Linked DNA regions of Homo sapiens: region 2 is linked to region 1. The links are contacts of gene promoters, found by promoter capture Hi-C in human tissues and cell types (Jung and others, 2019). All regions are on one chromosome and are shown on one strand. Each heading gives the region's core, a stretch centred on a gene start or on the middle of the fragment in contact. The rest is flanking DNA. Distances are from core to core; before and after follow the strand shown.

Region 1 (5,077 bases), core at 1,267-3,766:
CTCCTTCTTTTCAGGAGGGTATACCCAGACTTTGTCCCCCTGCATTCAAAAGTACTCTCTTTTTGACTGTGCATCCCCAGATACTGCCACTCTGCATTTACACACATTTTTTATCTACTGTGCTTATACGATATCCTCCTGTGGCCCTACACATTCTCAGTCCATCTGTGGACAACAATGTGCTGTCCTTTTGCACATTACACACTCTCAGTTTGTGCAAATCCAGTCACTATTACTATAACACACATGCCTCTAGCTCTGTACCCAGACACTCCTGTGGCACATTTATCTGCAACACTATCAGTGTTGACAAACATATCCACAACTGTTCATCCTGCAATCACCCATACGTTATTTCTTCATTCATTTCTTCATTTATTTATTCATTCATTCATTCATCCAAGAAACAGTCACTGAATAACTACTATATGCCAGGCATTGTGAGAGGCACTGAGGATAACAAGACTCTGTCTTTCACTTCAGGAAGTTCACTGTACAAAAGCAGAAAGGACTCCTGCAATCCTAGCCATGCAACTACCAAGGTGTAGTGTAAAGAGTGCACTGAGAATATAGACAGAGTGCCTAAGTCTGCCTAGAGAAGTTGTGGAAGGTTTCACACCAAAGAGGAAGCATTGGGCCCAAGAGCTGAAAAATCAGCAGGAATTTTCCAGGTTGACAAGTGAGGAAAGGGTGTTACCAGCAGAGGGAGCAGCATGCAGAGCCCAAACATGAGGAAGCAGTGTGCTCCAACCTCATGTAGATTCGTATGGCTGGCACACAGTGAATGTGGCAGGGGAGGAGATAAACCTGAGAAGATAACCAAGGCCCAGATCATGAGACCCTGTGTGCACTTGGTTTGTAGTAATCAGGCACATTTTGGGGTCATTTACTGAAACAGGAAACACAGGAGGAAAGGTTGGTTTGTAAAGAAGATGCAAAGCTTAGTTTGGGGGATGCTGAATTTTAGGTGCCTGTAGAACATACAATTGGAAAGAGATGTCTGGAGCTCAGAAAGTAGATCTAGATCCAGTGTCCACAGCATAGATATTCCTCAGAGCCAAGGTGATGGTTGAGATCACTGAGGGAAGGTATATGGAAAGGCTAGGATGGATCCCCAAGGAACATTAGGGAACTGGTTGAGATAGAATGAGACATTTGAGAAGAGAGAGAAAAGAGGCAGGAGGGAAAACAAAGCCGACAGTCAGGACTTCCCCAACCACACAGCACCTTTGGCAAGGTAGGAAAAGGCACCCCTTCCTCTGAGCAGACACAGCCTGGGTCACATGGGACTTGGTGAGCACAGCAGACTGGATTTCATGCTCCACATGCTCTTCTAGCCAGGTGCCATTGTGTTGGGAACAACTTGCCTTGCCCTATGAAGAGGACTTGATACAGGGTCATGGAAGGCAAGGGAAGCAATTGCCAGAGAAAAAAAGGATGGCCAGCAGTGTGAGGTACAGCAGAGCGGTGTAGAACTAAGACTAGGACTGAAGAACAGCCACTGGATGGTGCACCTGCCAGGCCCACACGCATGCACACTCCCTTAGCCCAAGCTTTTACAGGAAAGGAGGGCACATGGGAAAGAAATCTGCTACCTATTGCTATGGGCTCCATGCCAAGGCCATTTGGGGGAAGGGTCCCCAGTGTCGATTCCAGCCCTTTCCAGCCTGGCCCTGATTTTGGCCCAGCAGTACCTTGATCAGAAAGACACTGTTGTGACCTTGACGGAATGCAGCATCCACAGGGCTGGGGAAATTCTTCCATCTCTCTGAGATTAACTCCCGGTCCCATTTGTGACTCTTCCACACAAACTCCCCTGAAAAAACCCACACTCACTGAGGGGCCCAGTGAGAAACCTTTGACCTACTGAGATAGCTTGAGAGAAGCTGTCAGTGATACCATCAGATAATTCCTAAGACCTCCCACAGACAGGGACACCCTTTGTGAAGGAGAGTAAGTCTAAGGTCCTAAACGCCCTAACCTCAGTCCCTCCTACCTTTAAAAAACAGCATGGTTCCATTGTCATCCAGGGTGGTAGCATCAAAGCTCCAGCCATCTGAGCAGCGTTCTGGGGTGGAGGTAGGGAGATGGCAAAGTAAAAAAAAAAAAAAAAAAAAAAAAAAAAAAAAAAAACCAGAAGGTGATAAAATGCAGAGACACAACCAGACAGATAAGACAGACTTAGGGAGTCAGGGCCTCACCAGTCACGTCTGGGTCTGGCTTGGTCTCGCCTTCAGCAACATTCCCATGGGCACTAGTCCTAGGGAGAACAAAATAGATATCTTGATCCATTGGGACCGATCCCTTTCCCATAGCCCCTGACCCCAAATTTGACCGAGGCCTAAAAACTGGCCCTACCTTACCCTAGCCCAGAACTCAATCCTTCGCTTCTAGTCCCAGCTTTACTCACGGAGGAAGAGGGGTGGCAATGGCCAGAGACCAGCATAGGCTCCACAACCCCAGTGCAACGGGTGCTCCCAGTACCCTAGCCATGCTGAGCTGCAGAGGCCACAGGACAGCTCTGGGTGACCAGTTGAACTCCCTATATAGAGTTGGCAGCAGCACCACCCCCACCTCCAACTCTACTGGGAATGTGCTGTCTCCCAGGACTAAGCCAATATTGGCTGATTACATCACTGCAAATAAGGTCAGGGTCTGGACAGAAATCTGAATCCAAGACTCCTTTTTCCCGGCAGCTGCCCCCCAACCCCCTTCAGCAATTTTCAAGCAGTAACTGGGCTACACTGCTGACGTCCAGCTGTGACTCTCACACTGGCAATGGGTCCAGGCATCCATAAGTCAGGGAAGTGAGTAGACTGAGGATCACCTTTTGTGATTGAGTTTATCTCCACAATGGGGGAGGTGAGAAAAGGAGGGAACTAATATTGCTGTGTACTGTGTCAAGCCCTGCTCTAAGGCAGCTAGAGACAGCAATACTTACTACTTTTAGTAACCACACACACAGATAAACTTACTTAGAAATACTCAGAGAACAGCTTTTTCCAAGCTTCATCAGGGGCCTTTCTGGGGCATGCCCAAGCCTCTTCAGCTTTACCCTTGGGCTAGTGAGTCTGGGGACAATAATGTCTCACTGTTGTCAAATGTCCAAGCCCCATGCCCAGCCTCTCGCCTTCCCTGACTGGCAAAGGGCTTTGCAAAAAGTGCCTGGAAGTGAAGGGTTGACAGTAATGAGGCAGAAACAGGAGGTGTCTCTCTTCCAGAGAGCACCACCACTACTAGTAATTAGTCTTTCTTGGTAGTTTCCACCTTGGGGGAAAAAGCTTTATTTAACCAACCCAGAACAAATAGAACTGTAACTGGAATTTCACAATATTTCTAGCTGACTCCTGCTTAAATGCTACCTTCTCAATGAAGCCTTTCTTGACCACCTTATCTAGCCATTTCAGACCCTTGCTTGTTTTATTTTACTTACTAAAACTTGAAATTCTTTCATCTGTCTACTTATCTGGTGATGGTTGTTGTTGCTTTGCTTTGTTTTGCCTGTCTTGTTTACCATTATATATCCCTGACTCCTAAAATAGTGCCTGGCATATAAGAGTTGTTCCAGAAATATTTGTTGAATGAAAAAAATGCAAAAATGCATTTCAAGTACTGAGTAGTGTTGCTAGTGTTGCAGCCAAATTTCTGACAATTTCCCCCCCTCTAGGGTAGGAGAATATTAGGAATTGGGGGTAGGTTATGGTAGTAGGCATAATGAGATCTAGGAGTCACAGACGCCCTTTATCTGACAGTCCTGTTTCTCTCTCCAGTGTCTCGGCCCCACATCCATCTCTTCCTGGGATCTCACCTGCTATCCTCAGTACTTCCTGGGCCCACTCCCAAAGCTGCCCCATTTCTGTGTGAGATTTGCCTAGTGAGTCAGAAAAGAATTATGGGCAGACTCAGCTATGGGCCAGGATGAAGTTCCAGGACCCCTGCTCCCTAGCCAAGGCTGAAAGGGCCCTGATCCCTCACAGATGGCTCCAGACCCCTGACAGTCCCATATATAATCTTACCAAAAGTCTCAGATCCCTTTTCTACTCTGCGAAGTTTCCTTCCAACAGGAAAACACACATTCCGGAACCTCTGGAACAACATGTCACCAGGCCTCTGCCATCAGGCTCAATGTCCTCTCCTGACTTACGAATGAAAATGTGCTGTGAACATCATTCCCTCCTCATAGGTCAGTGGGCAAGGCTGGACTCTCTGAGTCCTTGGCAGCCTGGGCAATGCCATCGCTGCTACAGCCAATGTCTCATACTCACCTTCTCCCCATTGCAGGGCATGTCTTCTTTCTGGGTGTTGGGCAATGGGAGCCACTATTCTAAGACTCCCCCTCACCTTTTCTTTCCCTCTCAGCCTCTGAAACCTTATATTCTCCCTCCTGAGCACCCCATGATCCTCCATCAGGAATTTCCTCAACAACTTGTCTTCAGCTGTCAGAACCCTGTCTGAATCCTACAGATTTTGCTGGGCCTGCCTGGGGAGAGGGAAGCTTTCACCCCAAGAAACAAACACCCCACAGAAAACCCATAGTGAGAGTCTTCAATAGTCCTATTAGCAGGGCCTTGCACTGACTTGCCAGTCCAAGGGTGCAGTCTCCTTCTGGCCTAACAGGGCTGTCTGAGGGCATACAGCACATATACTGGATGATCATTTTTCAGCTTGACCCCTTCCCCACACACCTGGTGTGGTCCCCCTCACAGCACCCCGGATCCATCTATCCCAGAATACTACTTTATGGTCCCTTTTCCCTGTTGCTTCCTAATTCACCTGTGTACCCGAGAATGGCTTAGAAACCATTACTGGATCCTCCTGCTCCACCCAGGGACTAGGCCAGCAGAGTCATCTGCACTGCAGGCAGTCCAGGTTGAAGTTCAAGTTTTGGGCAGGAGTTGAAAGTAGAACATTGTACACATTTGGGAACCCAGGGCTGTGGATATGTTGGCCACCCTGGTGTTGGTCACAGGGTACAAGCCAAGACTTCTCAGGGTAGTCAAGACTCAGCAGCCTTGCTTCTCTTCCCCTCACTACAGGAGGCCCCTTCTGTGGGTCCTGGGTCCTTCCCAGGCTTCCT
Region 2 (5,077 bases), core at 726-3,225, 270 kb after region 1:
AATCCCAGCACTTTGGGAGGCTGAGGTGGGCAGATCACCTGAGGTCAGGAGTTCGAGACCAGCCTGGCCAACATGGCAAAACCCCGTCTCTAGTAAAAATACAAAAATTAGCTGGGCATAGTGGCATGGACCTGTAATCCCAGCTACTTGGGAGGCTGAGGCAGGAGAATCGCCTGAACCCAGGAGGCAGAGGTTGCAGTGAGCCGAGATTGCGCCACTGCACTCCAGCCTGTGTGACAGAGTGAGACTCCATCTCAAAAAAAAAAATTATGTTCAAAGATGTATGTTAACTGCAGTGCCATTTATGAGTGAAATTTTGGAGTATATATATTATACATTGCCATGTATGCAAAATTGTATGTTTTCCACTATGTGTCCATATGCCTAGAAGGATGAGTATAAAAATGTTCACCAAAGTTAATCTGGATGACAGGATTTTGGGTGTCTGATTTTCTTATGTTTTTCCACATTTTTGAATTTTTTCAATAAATGTAATATTGTAAAAAATAAGAAAGCTTTTCAAAAATTTCATCAAAATTGCATTCATTTTCTTTCTCCTATTTAAAACTCTTGAACACCTCATTTCACAGTGGTTCTCCACCGGGGCAATGCAAATGTTTCAGGGACATTTGACAATGTCTAGAGACATTTTTGTTGCCATAACTGTGAATAGTGCTACTCACATTTAATGGATAGAGGCCAGAGGTGCTACTAGACATCTTATAACGCACAGAGAGTTTCCCACAATAAATTATCTGGCTCTAAATGTTAACTATGCCGGAGTTGGGAAATCTCAGAATTCATTATCCTGATAGGCTCTTTATCACCATCTGGTGGTGAGAGAAGTGCCTGCAACTCCCATGTAGTTTCAGCCAGAAACCAAACTAGGGCCTCAGAAAAAAGATGGGAGGCCCTAAGAAGGGTAGCTATAGTTACAAAGGGAGGTAGAAAAAGAGCAAGTTAATTCATGGCTGAGAGGGTCTGTGATGCTCTTACTAAGAACTGTAGTTGCTCCTGACGCTGCCATTCTGTATCTATGAACGCTATATTATGATTTCCATTTTCCTGCCGCGCTGGGACTCCAGAGACTCAGAAGAAGGAAGTTAGATGCTGAGGCAGGAAAGGCTTTGGGGAAACTTTATGGATTTAATGTGGTTGATATAAGGGGGTAATCTCTACTTGCATCCATAGGTGCCTCCCCATTACATAGGATGATAAAGCTTTAGCTGTGCCAGGAACAATTCTAGATCGCAGCATGTGGGACCAAGTCAAAGCTCCTTGTTTTGGCTTGATGTAACCGTTACTTCCATTTCACTTTTCCTAAGGGATGCATTTGCAAGGCCTAGGCTTCATTCCTTGACTCCACCCCTCCTACCCCCAATTCGAAAGCCACGTAGAAGAAATATCTGTTCTTACTTGCTTATCAGTTTTACTTCTTTTATTTTCATCCACCAGTTTCCTGTTTTCTAATGATCACTTACTAATGAATTTCCCATCTGGCAGCTATGTCTCATGCTCCTCTCTGCTGCTCTCAACAGGGCTGTAGGCCACTTTCCTGCCTGCTGCTCACTTCTGAAAGATCTGTATTCTCTCACTCCTCAAAAGGATGCTGCTTTCTTCATACAGGTGTTGGGAAGAGGAGAATGTTGTATGCCCCTCATTTTCTTTTTGCACTACCTCTTTAGTATCCATCACCCCATTGTCCAAATCTATCTTGACATAGCAATATCTACCAATGCCTTGAAGTAGGTTGCAGGTTGATTTCCCCAAGAGCAGACGGTAGAACAGTGTGGAGGGCAAGATGTTTATTAGGGATCAACGCCTGTGAAGAAAAGGGGCAAAAGTAGGATTTGGCAGAGAAAGACATTGAGCCGTGATGCAGGCCTTACAAACCTTCCCTGAACCTGGTGGAGAGCTCTGTAGAGTGAAGACCAACAAAGCATCCTGTGTCAGGCTACAATGGCTGGGTCTTTCTTTTCTGTCTCAGCCTCTGGATACAGGCTACCCCAGGAAGGGCATTACCTCAGGTGAAGGGGCTCCCTGCAATTGAGGCAGATTGGGAAGATCTGACAGCTGAAGCCTGGCTGCTTACTTCATTCCCCTCAGTTGGGCAGCAAGTCTTCTCTTGCAGGAGGTTCTGGGTGGCACAGTTCCACGTCTTCACAGAGGAGTGGATGAGAATTACAATGTAAACTACAAGATAAACATGATTTTTCCCATGGTTCAAAGGAAAATCGCCAAAGATACATAAACTGTCAGGCAGGTTGTTCCTGGTTCACATCTTTTCCAATTTGGAATAAATGCAAATTCCTTGAATTTCATTAAAAATAACAATGACATTGGATAACTGTTGCCTCAGGAACCCACAACGACGCTCTCATTCTGTCCTGGCCTACTCACATATCTTCCCTCCATTCCTCACCCCTTTTTTGAGGTTTACATTTTAATTCTATTGTATTTTAAAAATCCTATTCAGAGAAAATAAACTATAGATACAGGAAACAATAAGGAAAGCACATTTATAAACACTGTTTCAGTCAAAATAAAGAACTTGGACTGGCCCAGCGTGGTGGCTCACACCTGTAATCCCAGCACTTTGGGAGGCTGAGGCAGGCAGATCGCCTGAGGTCAGGAGTTTGAGACCAGCCTGGCCAACATGGCAAAACCTCCTCTCTACTAAAAAGTATAAAAATTATCTGGGAGTGGTGGCAGGTGCCTGTAATCCCAGCCACTCGGGAGGCTGAGGCAGGAGAATCGCTTGAGCCTGAGAGGTTGCAGTGAGCCGAGATTGCACCACTGCACTCCAGCCTGGGCGACAGAGCAAGACTGTATCTCAAAAAAAAAAAAAAAAAAAAAGAACTTGGACCCTCTTCTTCAGGACCTTAACAATTAAGATGGAGTGTAGCCACAACTACATTTCAGTATAATAGCAATAATAATGTTAATAAATGCTATAATTACTTCTATTAACGTGACTTTTGCTGCGGTTATTGCTGCTTCTGCTGTTGTTGGCATTGCTACTACCTAACATTATTGGCACGTGTACCATGTTTCAGGCATATGTATTGTTTCACGTTATTCTTAACACTTCACTGAGGTTGCACCATTTTATGTATGAAGGAAATGAAGCAGAGACAGGTTAACTAACTCATCCAAGGTCATACATGTAGTAAATAGTGGAGGCCCTTCGCACAACTAACAGCCTGGCTTTCACAGGCTGGCATTTTCTAACTCTCAACACTTGGCTTATACCTGCTTCTTCATCTTGAATTACCTTCTTCTTGCTTCCTCTCTCTCTTTGTACCCTTTGACCTACACTTCTGCTTTCCCCCACCCACCATCCCAGCTTCTGGTAACAAACATTCTACTTTCCTTCTTTTTTCTTTTTATTTTTTTATGTTTTTGAGACAGTCTCCATGTGCCGCCCAAGCTGGAGTGCAGTAGAGCTATCTCAGCTCACTGCAACCTCTGCCTCCCAGGTTCAAGTGATTCTCCTGTCTCAGCCTCCTGAGTAGCTGGGATTACAGGCGCCCGCCACAACACCCGGCTAATTTTTGTATTTTCAGTAGAGATGGGGCTTCACTGTGCTGCCCAGGCTGGTCTACAACTCCTGACCTCATGTGATCCGCCTGCCTCAACCTCCCAAAGTTCTGGGATTACTGGCATGAGCCACCGCACCTGACCACAAACATTCTACTTTCTACTTCTATGATTTCAAATTTAGATTCCACATGTAAGTAACTCACAACTTATTCATGTGATTTGATGTTGTTCTAGAATCCATCACCCTGCTTCCCTTTTCTACAGGCCTTGTGACTCCTTCTTTCCCACTGTACTTGGTTCTCTGCTTTAACTGACTGGAACATCCCTAAATCTACTGAAGTGATCCCCAACTCCCATGTCTCTGTTTCCCACTTGCAATGACTCTGCCCCATTCCACTGACCATGAGAGCCCTGTTCCTGCCAATGTCATAACTCTAGCTACCTCTAATCCTGTGAGCTGCACCTAGACCCAGTGTCTCCCCCTGACCACCCCCCCCTTTTTTTTGGTTTCACAAAACAATTTGTTAATAGATGATATTTTCATTTTGAATTACTTGTACCATGATGATTAGTAGATCAGTAAATAAATTTGATAATCAGCCGGGCATGGTGGCTCACACTTGTAATCTCAGCATTTTGAGAGGCCGAGGCGGGTGGATCACGAGGTCAGGAGTTCGAGACCAGCCTGACCAACATGGTGAAACCCCGTCTCTACTAAAAATACAAAAATTAGCCAGGCGTGGTGGCATGCGCCTGTAATCCCAGCTACTCAGGAGGCTGAGGCAGGAGAATCACTTGAACCCGGGAGGCAGAGGTTGCAGTGAGCCGAGATCGCACCACTACTGCACTCCAGCCTGGGCAACAGAGTGAGACTCCATCTCAAAATAAATAAATCTGATAATCGTACAAACTTAGAACTAGAAAGACTGGTCTAATATGTTTACAGAGTGAGGATTTTGAACGCAGGTGTCTCCCCTTCTTGATGATCTCATCCCTCCTGACTCCTGAGGTCTCTCGCCCCAGTGCCACCCAACCCACTGACACTAATCCTCTCCAATCCTAACCCCACCTTGATGGCAGCGCTACTCTCTCCACTTCTATCACAGAAATCCCCATCTCTACACAGGCATCTTTGCTTTATCCCAATTTACCTTTTTCCCATCTTTTGTGTGATTTCTTGAGAACGGCCTCTGAATCTCATTTAATAACCATGCAGCTTAAAATCCTGAGGAATTTATCAAAGACTTTTGAAATTTTATACACACTAATTTTGGTTTGAAAGTCAAGGTTAACATATATATGATACCTTGTTAAAGGATGTTAAAAACGTTTAATTCACACATAATATTCATACATGTTTATGCAGTACAGAGTGAGATTTTAAAAAACTTTTATTTAGCCTCAGGGTTACATGTGCAGATTTGTTATATAGGTAAACTCGTGTCATGAGGGTTTGTTGTACAGATTATTTCATCACCCAGGTACTAAGCCTGGGTGATGACAACTGCAGGCTGGCATTCTCTAACTCTCAACA

The links. The method cuts DNA at HindIII sites, captures the fragments that hold promoters and counts their contacts. A contact is called where the count stands out against the background at its distance.
Region 2: a contact is called between a fragment that was not itself captured here and the fragment with the promoter of HPX in region 1, in 1 of the 25 tissues and cell types used here (heart left ventricle).

The regions. Positions count from the first base shown.
Region 1 is chr11:6,438,471-6,443,547 of GRCh38, forward strand. HPX (hemopexin) reads right to left here and starts at 2,517. Exons shown (of 10, transcript NM_000613.3): 1 at 2,411-2,517; 2 at 2,202-2,260; 3 at 1,997-2,068; 4 at 1,695-1,816; 5 at 1-39. The coding sequence starts at 2,493. RefSeq lists an enhancer at 4,885-4,954. The HindIII fragment of the contact is 2,516 bases long and covers 2,281-4,796 here.
Region 2 is chr11:6,705,270-6,710,346 of GRCh38, forward strand. No RefSeq gene overlaps it. Among named protein-coding and RNA genes, the nearest start is that of MRPL17, 24 kb to the left of the region's middle. The HindIII fragment of the contact is 5,616 bases long and covers 1-4,783 here.